Regions from separate parts of the Homo sapiens genome. Here all the other regions are linked to region 2. Evidence: promoter capture Hi-C in 16 types of primary human blood cells and fetal thymus (Javierre and others, 2016). All regions are on one chromosome and are shown on one strand. The core of a region is centred on a gene start or on the middle of the fragment in contact, and the rest is flanking DNA. Distances in the headings are between cores, read along the strand shown.

Region 1 (2,700 bases), core at 189-2,688, 330 kb after region 2:
ATTCTCTTCAAAGAACAGCTGGGCCTAAAGCAGGATTTCTCAACCTCAGCCTGGTTGACACTTTGTGCTGGAGAAGGCTTTGTTGTGGAGGGGTGTACTCTGCATGACAGGATGTTTAGCAGCAACGCTGTCTCCACCCACCAGATGCAAGTAGCGTTCCTCACTGTCCCCCCTCATGCTGAGATTGTGATAGCCAAAAATGTCTCCAGATACTGTTAAATGTAGAGAGCAAAATTGCTCCTGGTTCAAAAGCACTGGTCTAGAGGTCTCCCATATTTTCCTCTGAGTCCTGGGACAAAGTGGCTCAAGCCTCCTTCTCTGATGACTCAGGTGATATCTCTCTCATCTTGGGCCAATCACAAATGAATATAGCCAGGGAGAGGCAAGTGCTTTCTGAAAAGCAAGAATAGGTCATGCTTTGTCATTCACTGGTAGAGTCAGAAGTAAGCCATAATACAAATGACTAAGAGTCAACCAAAGACAATCAGAAAGGTAATTAGACCAGTGATGTTCAAAGTCTTGTTTGTAAACCACATCTTCTGGAGAAATGATTAAAAATGGAAATTTTGCGGGTTATTATCTAGGTCTACTGTATTGAAATCTGGATTTTTAACAAACTCCCAAGGGGATTCTTATGCATCCAAGAGTATGAGAACCACTGTATTCAATAGCAATGCTTATTTACTTATCTTCAAAAATTGTTTATTTTGAAATAACCAGGGGCAGAATACTAAATAGTACAAAAAGAGGAACTAGGCTTTCATATAATAAAAAGTACTGTATCTTAACTTTGTTTTCTTTTTTAGCTTAAGTGCTTCCTAAAGACTAACACAATCCATATGTTCATGGAAAACAAAAATCCCCACCAGAATATGAGGTTGGTCAGGCATACTCGAGTGAGTCTGTCAAGCCCTAAGACCTGGTGGGTGTTGGATCCAAATTCCCTCTTCAACACAGTGTAAGCATCCAATGCATTCATCATCCCCTTTTCAAAATGCTTGGTCTGTGCGTCTTCTTTTTCCTGACCCTGAATGAGATATTTTTGAGACTTAAAAGGAAAAGTAAAAAGGAAAGCCAGCTTAGATAAGGTGCTCTTTGGCAAAAGAATAGGATAAAATGCATTGTAATTGCTTCTAAATTAGTTACCTTATCTGATTTGGGTCTGTCTTTTTATAAGCAAAGCTCAAAACACTTAACCCCTAGTTGTCCAGTTGTAGTGCAACTAAAGCCACTAAAGCTCTGAACCTAGTGAGTGGATAGACAATACTGCTTTTTGTGCAGAGAACATAATTTCACACCCCCCTCCTTTGCTACCCTCCATTGCCTGGCAACAATGCTGGGCACACCATGGGAGATCTGTAACTACTTGCTGAATGGAAGGAAGGGCTGAACAACCCTGTAGACCCTGTAGTTTGGGGTAAGAAGACATCTGGATGCTGACCTGTACACCAAGCTACATGAAGAATTTCCCCATAGTTCATTAGAGAGTGGGAGCAAGAGGGTACCCAGATGCCACACAGACCCCAAGAAAGAGCTCATCAAGTTTCCTTGCCTCTTGGGAACTGAAATAGTTAGCACTGTGGAGCTTGCCTAAATAGAATAGAAAAGAAAATGATACCAGGGAGATTTCTGCTGAAAAGACAGACCTATCCAGTTTTTCATTGGAACCATCTCCCTGATTCAAAAACAGCCCCATCATTAGAACTGCTGGACCAACTCAACAAAATGTAAATACAGCTCTATCCAGTAATGTGACATTGCTAGAGGCATTCCCTGGCTTTCTGTAATAAAATATGACCTGAGTCCTTTCCAATTTATGTTTCTAGGGTCTTTTGTCTTTTTGTTTAATTAGGATACTTGTTCCTATTTGTCATGCAGTTAGGATGGCGTCTGTGTTTACAGATTACAGAGGTGTAGATAAAATGGGGACTCTGAGACCCAAGTGCAAAGGTTTGCATTTTTCACAGAAATTTTCCAAATGCTACTTTTATAGATGGTTGAAATTTGAGACTTGAGGGATCTCTCTTTTTAGTCAGGCTTGCCTAATATTTTGGCATCCTACAATTTCGTATACTTTGTAAGGAAAAAGAAGGGGAAAGTGGGAGGGTGGGAGGGTTTGTCTTTAATTGTCTTCTTTGTTAGAGAAATGAGATGTGGTGTTTTATTCATAGGCAAAGCCCTTTCTGGCAAATCGTTTGAAAGTCAGTGGGATTGTATAGATCCTCTCTATCTATTCTATTCCCTCTACATTAGCCATTCCTTTCCAAATCAGAAAATGTCTTTGGTAGATGGAATTATTGACCTCATGCTTCAGCTGTTTTTGGGTCCACACCCTTTGCCATGTGATATTGCAGTCCCTCCCACAAAAGGCAGAGTCAATTTTTCCACTGGCTGTGACTTGCTTTGGTCAATGCAGTGTGGATGGCTGTGACCATGTACCAGTTCTGCACTTGGACTATAAGAGGCATCATTTCTCTCTCAGTTATCTGCTTCCCCTCAGCTTGAAGCCTAGAGGAATACATAAAGAACCCATAGCATGGGGCTAGGTGTAGCCAGACTTATAGCTTGAGGTAGAGCCACCTAGCTGAGCCCAGTTTAGACGAGACAATGCCCGGGTGACCTGCAGACCCGTGGGCAAGAATAAGTGGTTATTGTTTTAATTAATCCACTGAAGTATTACTTGTTACTCAGTAATAGCCA
Region 2 (2,700 bases), core at 35-2,534:
CTGGGGAGTGGGAATTTGGAAAGTTCCCCAACTAGGGACACACGTGACCTCCTTCGGAAAGTAGTTCCGACTGTGGCCCGTGTATCCTTCCACCTCCTTTTGAACCCTCCTAGGTCTCCTCGCCCCGCCCACTCGCTGGGCTGCAGCTTCCTACCGTTCCGTACTTTCCACTCAACCCGGTAACCCCAAACGTGCACGGTCCGGCCGGGGCGCGCGGAGCCTGGCCCCGGGCGATCCATCCTGCCGGGTTTTCACGGCGGCCAAGGGGGGGCGGGGCTAGGTGGTCTCTGAGAACCGAGCTTGACTCCGACGCCGCGAACCGACCTGGAGCCCGAGGGGAAAGATGCTCGACTCTCTTGGGGGCACCGGAGCGGGCGCAGGAGAGGCCTGCGGGGTGCGTCCCACTCACAGGGATCCTCTTTCAGTTCATTTAGATAGGTGCCCTTTGGGCCCTTGAAATTCAACGGCTATGTGTTCACGTTCAGCACGCTCGGCTGAGAGCTTTCATTTTTAGGGCAAACGAGCCGAGTTACCGGGGAAGCGAGAGGTGGGGCGCTGCAAGGGAGCCGGATGAGGTGATACACGCTGGCGACACAATAGCAGGTTGCTCTTTGTGCTAAGACTGACACCATGAGGACACAGATTTGGGGGAAGGGGGAATCTCTAGGCAAAGGCTGTTACAGTCAAATCTCTGCGAACGATTGTGATCCGACAGCGGTGCAAAAGGAAAGAGCGAATGCAGTCCACGCCGCGGAAATCTAGGGGTAGAGGCAAGGGGGGAGGGTATTCCCCTTGCAGGGACCGTCCCTGCATTTCCCTCTACACTGAGCAGCGTGGTCACCTGGTCCTTTTCACCTGTGCACAGGTAACCTCAGACTCGAGTCAGTGACACTGCTCAACGCACCCATCTCAGCTTTCATCATCAGTCCTCCACCCCCGCCCCACAACAGCCTACCCTGCCTCCGGCTGGGTTTCTGGGCAGAGGCCGAGGCTTAGCTCGTTATCCTCGCCTCGCGTTGCTGCAAAAGCCGCAGCAAGTGCAGCTGCAGGCTGGCGGCTGGGAACCGGCCCGAGCAAGCCCCAGGCAGCTACACTGGGCATGCTCAGTAGAGCCTGCGGCTTGGGGACTCTGCGCTCGCACCCAGAGCTACCGCTCTGCCCCCTCCTACCGCCCCCTGCCCTGCCCTGCCCTCCCCTCGCCCGGCGCGGTCCCGTCCGCCTCTCGCTCGCCTCCCGCCTCCCCTCGGTCTTCCGAGGCGCCCGGGCTCCCGGCGCGGCGGCGGAGGGGGCGGGCAGGCCGGCGGGCGGTGATGTGGCGGGACTCTTTATGCGCTGCGGCAGGATACGCGCTCGGCGCTGGGACGCGACTGCGCTCAGTTCTCTCCTCTCGGAAGCTGCAGCCATGATGGAAGTTTGAGAGTTGAGCCGCTGTGAGGCGAGGCCGGGCTCAGGCGAGGGAGATGAGAGACGGCGGCGGCCGCGGCCCGGAGCCCCTCTCAGCGCCTGTGAGCAGCCGCGGGGGCAGCGCCCTCGGGGAGCCGGCCGGCCTGCGGCGGCGGCAGCGGCGGCGTTTCTCGCCTCCTCTTCGTCTTTTCTAACCGTGCAGCCTCTTCCTCGGCTTCTCCTGAAAGGGAAGGTGGAAGCCGTGGGCTCGGGCGGGAGCCGGCTGAGGCGCGGCGGCGGCGGCGGCACCTCCCGCTCCTGGAGCGGGGGGGAGAAGCGGCGGCGGCGGCGGCCGCGGCGGCTGCAGCTCCAGGGAGGGGGTCTGAGTCGCCTGTCACCATTTCCAGGGCTGGGAACGCCGGAGAGTTGGTCTCTCCCCTTCTACTGCCTCCAACACGGCGGCGGCGGCGGCTGGCACATCCAGGGACCCGGGCCGGTTTTAAACCTCCCGTGCGCCGCCGCCGCACCCCCCGTGGCCCGGGCTCCGGAGGCCGCCGGCGGAGGCAGCCGTTCGGAGGATTATTCGTCTTCTCCCCATTCCGCTGCCGCCGCTGCCAGGCCTCTGGCTGCTGAGGAGAAGCAGGCCCAGTCGCTGCAACCATCCAGCAGCCGCCGCAGCAGCCATTACCCGGCTGCGGTCCAGAGCCAAGCGGCGGCAGAGCGAGGGGCATCAGCTACCGCCAAGTCCAGAGCCATTTCCATCCTGCAGAAGAAGCCCCGCCACCAGCAGCTTCTGCCATCTCTCTCCTCCTTTTTCTTCAGCCACAGGCTCCCAGACATGACAGCCATCATCAAAGAGATCGTTAGCAGAAACAAAAGGAGATATCAAGAGGATGGATTCGACTTAGACTTGACCTGTATCCATTTCTGCGGCTGCTCCTCTTTACCTTTCTGTCACTCTCTTAGAACGTGGGAGTAGACGGATGCGAAAATGTCCGTAGTTTGGGTGACTATAACATTTAACCCTGGTCAGGTTGCTAGGTCATATATTTTGTGTTTCCTTTCTGTGTATTCAACCTAGGGTGTGTTTGGCTAGACGGAACTCTTGCCTGGTTGCAAGTGTCAAGCCACCGATTGCTTTCTTAGGCTATCTATATGGTCTCTTCCTGAGGGCTATTGTCCGTTAATACAGAATACAGTACACTGTTAGTGGATTAGCGAGCTCGGTAATCCGGTCTCCTAAATGAACAAAAAAGTAGACGCTTTTTGAGGTTGAGCATATTTCGATTAAATCTTGGCTTAGGCCCTAGATCAAGG
Region 3 (2,700 bases), core at 40-2,539, 290 kb after region 2:
AACAAAAAAGACAAAGAAGAAACTGAAAATTAGAAGGACAAAGAGACGTATCTAGGATCCTGAAGTGGATTAATGGATTCTTGACTCAGGCACAATGCAGTGCTTGTTGTAGTATAGGATATATCATCCCTTTTGGGACTTGAAAATTTACTCTTCACATATTTTTAAATTCTATATCTTGCCCTCTCAATTACAGTATTAGTTATTTAAGGATAGAGAGTATGTTTTCTACTTAAAAATGTTTCCAATATTATGTAAAAAGTAGAAACTAAGTGTTAAAGGCAAGCAAGCAAGCTAGTTGGCAGAGAGGGAGTGCAAATGTTTACATGGTGGAGATGCTGGTAGTCCCTGGCACATAGTAATCTTTCAGTAAGTACTTTTCAAGTGAACGAATGGATGAATGAAATGGTGTTAGGAAGACTAGAGTTGAATTTGAACTGGGGGGCGGGTATTTCCAAGAATACAGATGAAGTTTTGCAACAAAGGAAGTAGATCCAGCTTTGGATGCTGCTGACAAACTAGTCTTTAAAGAAAATTACAGCACGTGTGTATAAAGAGGTGAGTCACTGGAGAAGAGTTATTGAACCTGACAGACATTGTGAAGAGAACAGCAATGGTCTCTGACTGTTCAGCAAGAACGCTGAACATCTGCTCAGCATCATCAAGACCGTCTTCTGCCTACTAACTGGTGGGATGTGCCTCTGTGCCAAACGATGGCCTCTCATGTTGGGCATCATTCATCTAAGGGCTCTGAAAGCTGTGATTATTGCAGTGGGTGAAGAGACAGGTGTTTCAGGCATGCTAGTGTAAAATATTATCTAGATCAGTGCTTTTCAAGCTTTAATGAGCATATGAATCATTTGGGCATCTTGTTAAAAGGCTGCTTCTACTGTAATAGGTCTTGGGTGGAGCCTAAGATTTTCTATTTCTCACACACTACAAGGTGTGATGAGAATGATGCTGATGCTGCTGTTCTGAGCAACCATACTTTGAGTAATAAGGTTCTAGCTGATCTATGGAAAAGTACTAGGGAATGTGACAATTAGAAGTAGTTCTATGTTGTCCTTTCAGCTTTGTCCTCTGATCAGGAATCTCCACTCTGTGGGCCAACTCTCCAACAACAGGCTGGCAATCCAATTGGTTGGTTATGCTGCTTCTATAGGGACTGATTGGATTTGGGGGTCATGAAGTTATTAAGGGAAAAAAATCAAGGAAGCATTAAAACTCATACTTCCTAGAGTGTTACACCTAAAGATCTGCACAAGGACTCATTTGCTTATGAATCACTTAGAAATTCATGTTTACTCCTAGGGCCCAGCACAGAGTAGGCCATCCAAAAATGCCAAATGAATGAAGAAAGGATAAAGAAGGAGGCTTCAATCAAAGCAGCTAGAGTCATACCACATCTCACTATTAATTTCACTTACAAGATGAAGAACTAAGCCAAAAAATCACCTATGTAAACAAAAATAGATGTCTCAAAGGCCATACATTAACTCTTAGGCATATTACTTCTGGAGAAGTTCTAAGTCAACTCAGAGCCTATTTGGGCTTTTATATTTTTAAATAAAAGAGTGAAATAGTTTATTATCATATAAACAGAGTGATGTGATTTCTCACCTTTTGTAAGATTTTATAGTTTGCAATGCACTTTAAAATAGCTTTATTGAGATATAATTCATATATCATAAAATTCACCCTTTTAAAGTGTTATTTGTACCTATTTTACAACCTATTTTATAAAGCTTGGCTGTCTATAGTAGAAGGGAAGAGGCAAGTTAGAGGGGTTTGGAGAGAACAAGAGATAGATATAGGCAGGCAAGGGCAAAAGAATAAAAGACAAGACAAAAAATATTAAATGAAGCACAGAGAAGTACTAAGAAAGCTCAGGCAGTAATCTGGAAATATTTAGTTTAGTGGAAACCTCTTTCCAACATGCTTCAAAATATCCCAAGAAGATGAGTGTATACAACCCAGTATAATAATGGATGTTCATGATGGTGCCCTTCTAGCTAATTCTAGTTGTTACATTCCCTAGTACTTTTCCATAGATCATCTAGAACCTTGTTACTCAAAATATGGTTGCTCAGAACAGCAGCATCAGCATCATTCATGATGGTCAGTTGTCAAGGAAAGGATAAGTTATACTCCACCTACTCGGCTTAAAAAGCCAAGGAAGTCTGTGACCCATTAAGACATTTTCATTACAAAGGTAATGGTGATATTTTGTCAAGTGTTGGGTGCTTTAAAAAGTAAGTCCTCAACTCTCTCCACAATGAGTCAGTTCATGGGGATTCCAGAAAGTTGATGTTTTATGGTATGGGCTGAGATATGTGACCAGAGGTCAGCCACATGCACACAGCTCTGCTGACTCAAGGGTGGAGGTCCTCACCAAGCACTGCCATGTGCATGAGTGAGGGCATCTGGGCTTTCAAGGCACATCTTTCTCCCAGGGACAACACCCTTCCTTCTTTTTTTGGACCCTGCTGTCTCCTGAGATCCTCCTGAGCATAATTTAACCCTTGCTGGGTGAGAATCAGAATGGTCCAGCAAGCGCTGGATTTTCTGTCAGAGTTTCCTTCGGTTTAAAAATCTGAAACTTGTTTGTCCCTCTGACTCTTCCCAGCTGCAACGAGGTACAAACACAAGGAGATGCAACTCAGAATGCCACTGTGCAGAGCTCTCTTAGTTTTGATTACA

The links. The method cuts DNA at HindIII sites, captures the fragments that hold promoters and counts their contacts. A CHiCAGO score of 5 or more calls a contact.
Region 1: a contact is called between a fragment that was not itself captured here and the fragment with the promoter of KLLN in region 2, in 4 of 17 cell types (naive CD8 T cells, non-activated CD4 T cells, naive CD4 T cells and 1 more). The highest score is 7.9, in naive CD8 T cells.
Region 3: a contact is called between a fragment that was not itself captured here and the fragment with the promoter of KLLN in region 2, in 1 of 17 cell types (endothelial precursors). The highest score is 5.1, in endothelial precursors.

The regions. Positions count from the first base shown.
Region 1 is chr10:88,194,125-88,196,824 of GRCh38, forward strand. All of the region lies in intron 1 of LOC101929727 (a long non-coding RNA gene), which reads left to right. It also overlaps a transcript of RNLS not described here. Among named protein-coding and RNA genes, the nearest start is that of PTEN, 330 kb to the left of the region's middle. The HindIII fragment of the contact is 3,102 bases long and covers 1-2,700 here.
Region 2 is chr10:87,862,249-87,864,948 of GRCh38, forward strand. KLLN (killin, p53 regulated DNA replication inhibitor) reads right to left here and starts at 1,285. Exons shown (of 1, transcript NM_001126049.2): 1 at 1-1,285. The coding sequence starts at 239. MLDHR (mitochondrial lactate dehydrogenase regulator) reads left to right here and starts at 1,311. Exons shown (of 1, transcript NM_001433720.1): 1 at 1,311-1,406. The coding sequence starts at 1,311. The coding sequence ends at 1,406. PTEN (phosphatase and tensin homolog) reads left to right here and starts at 1,377. Exons shown (of 9, transcript NM_000314.8): 1 at 1,377-2,300. The coding sequence starts at 2,222. RefSeq lists enhancers at 12-101, 352-531 and silencers at 1,132-1,441, 1,532-1,671. The HindIII fragment of the contact is 7,182 bases long and covers 1-2,700 here.
Region 3 is chr10:88,154,207-88,156,906 of GRCh38, forward strand. The region is part of intron 1 of LOC101929727 (a long non-coding RNA gene); the gene reads left to right. Among named protein-coding and RNA genes, the nearest start is that of PTEN, 290 kb to the left of the region's middle. The HindIII fragment of the contact is 907 bases long and covers 837-1,743 here.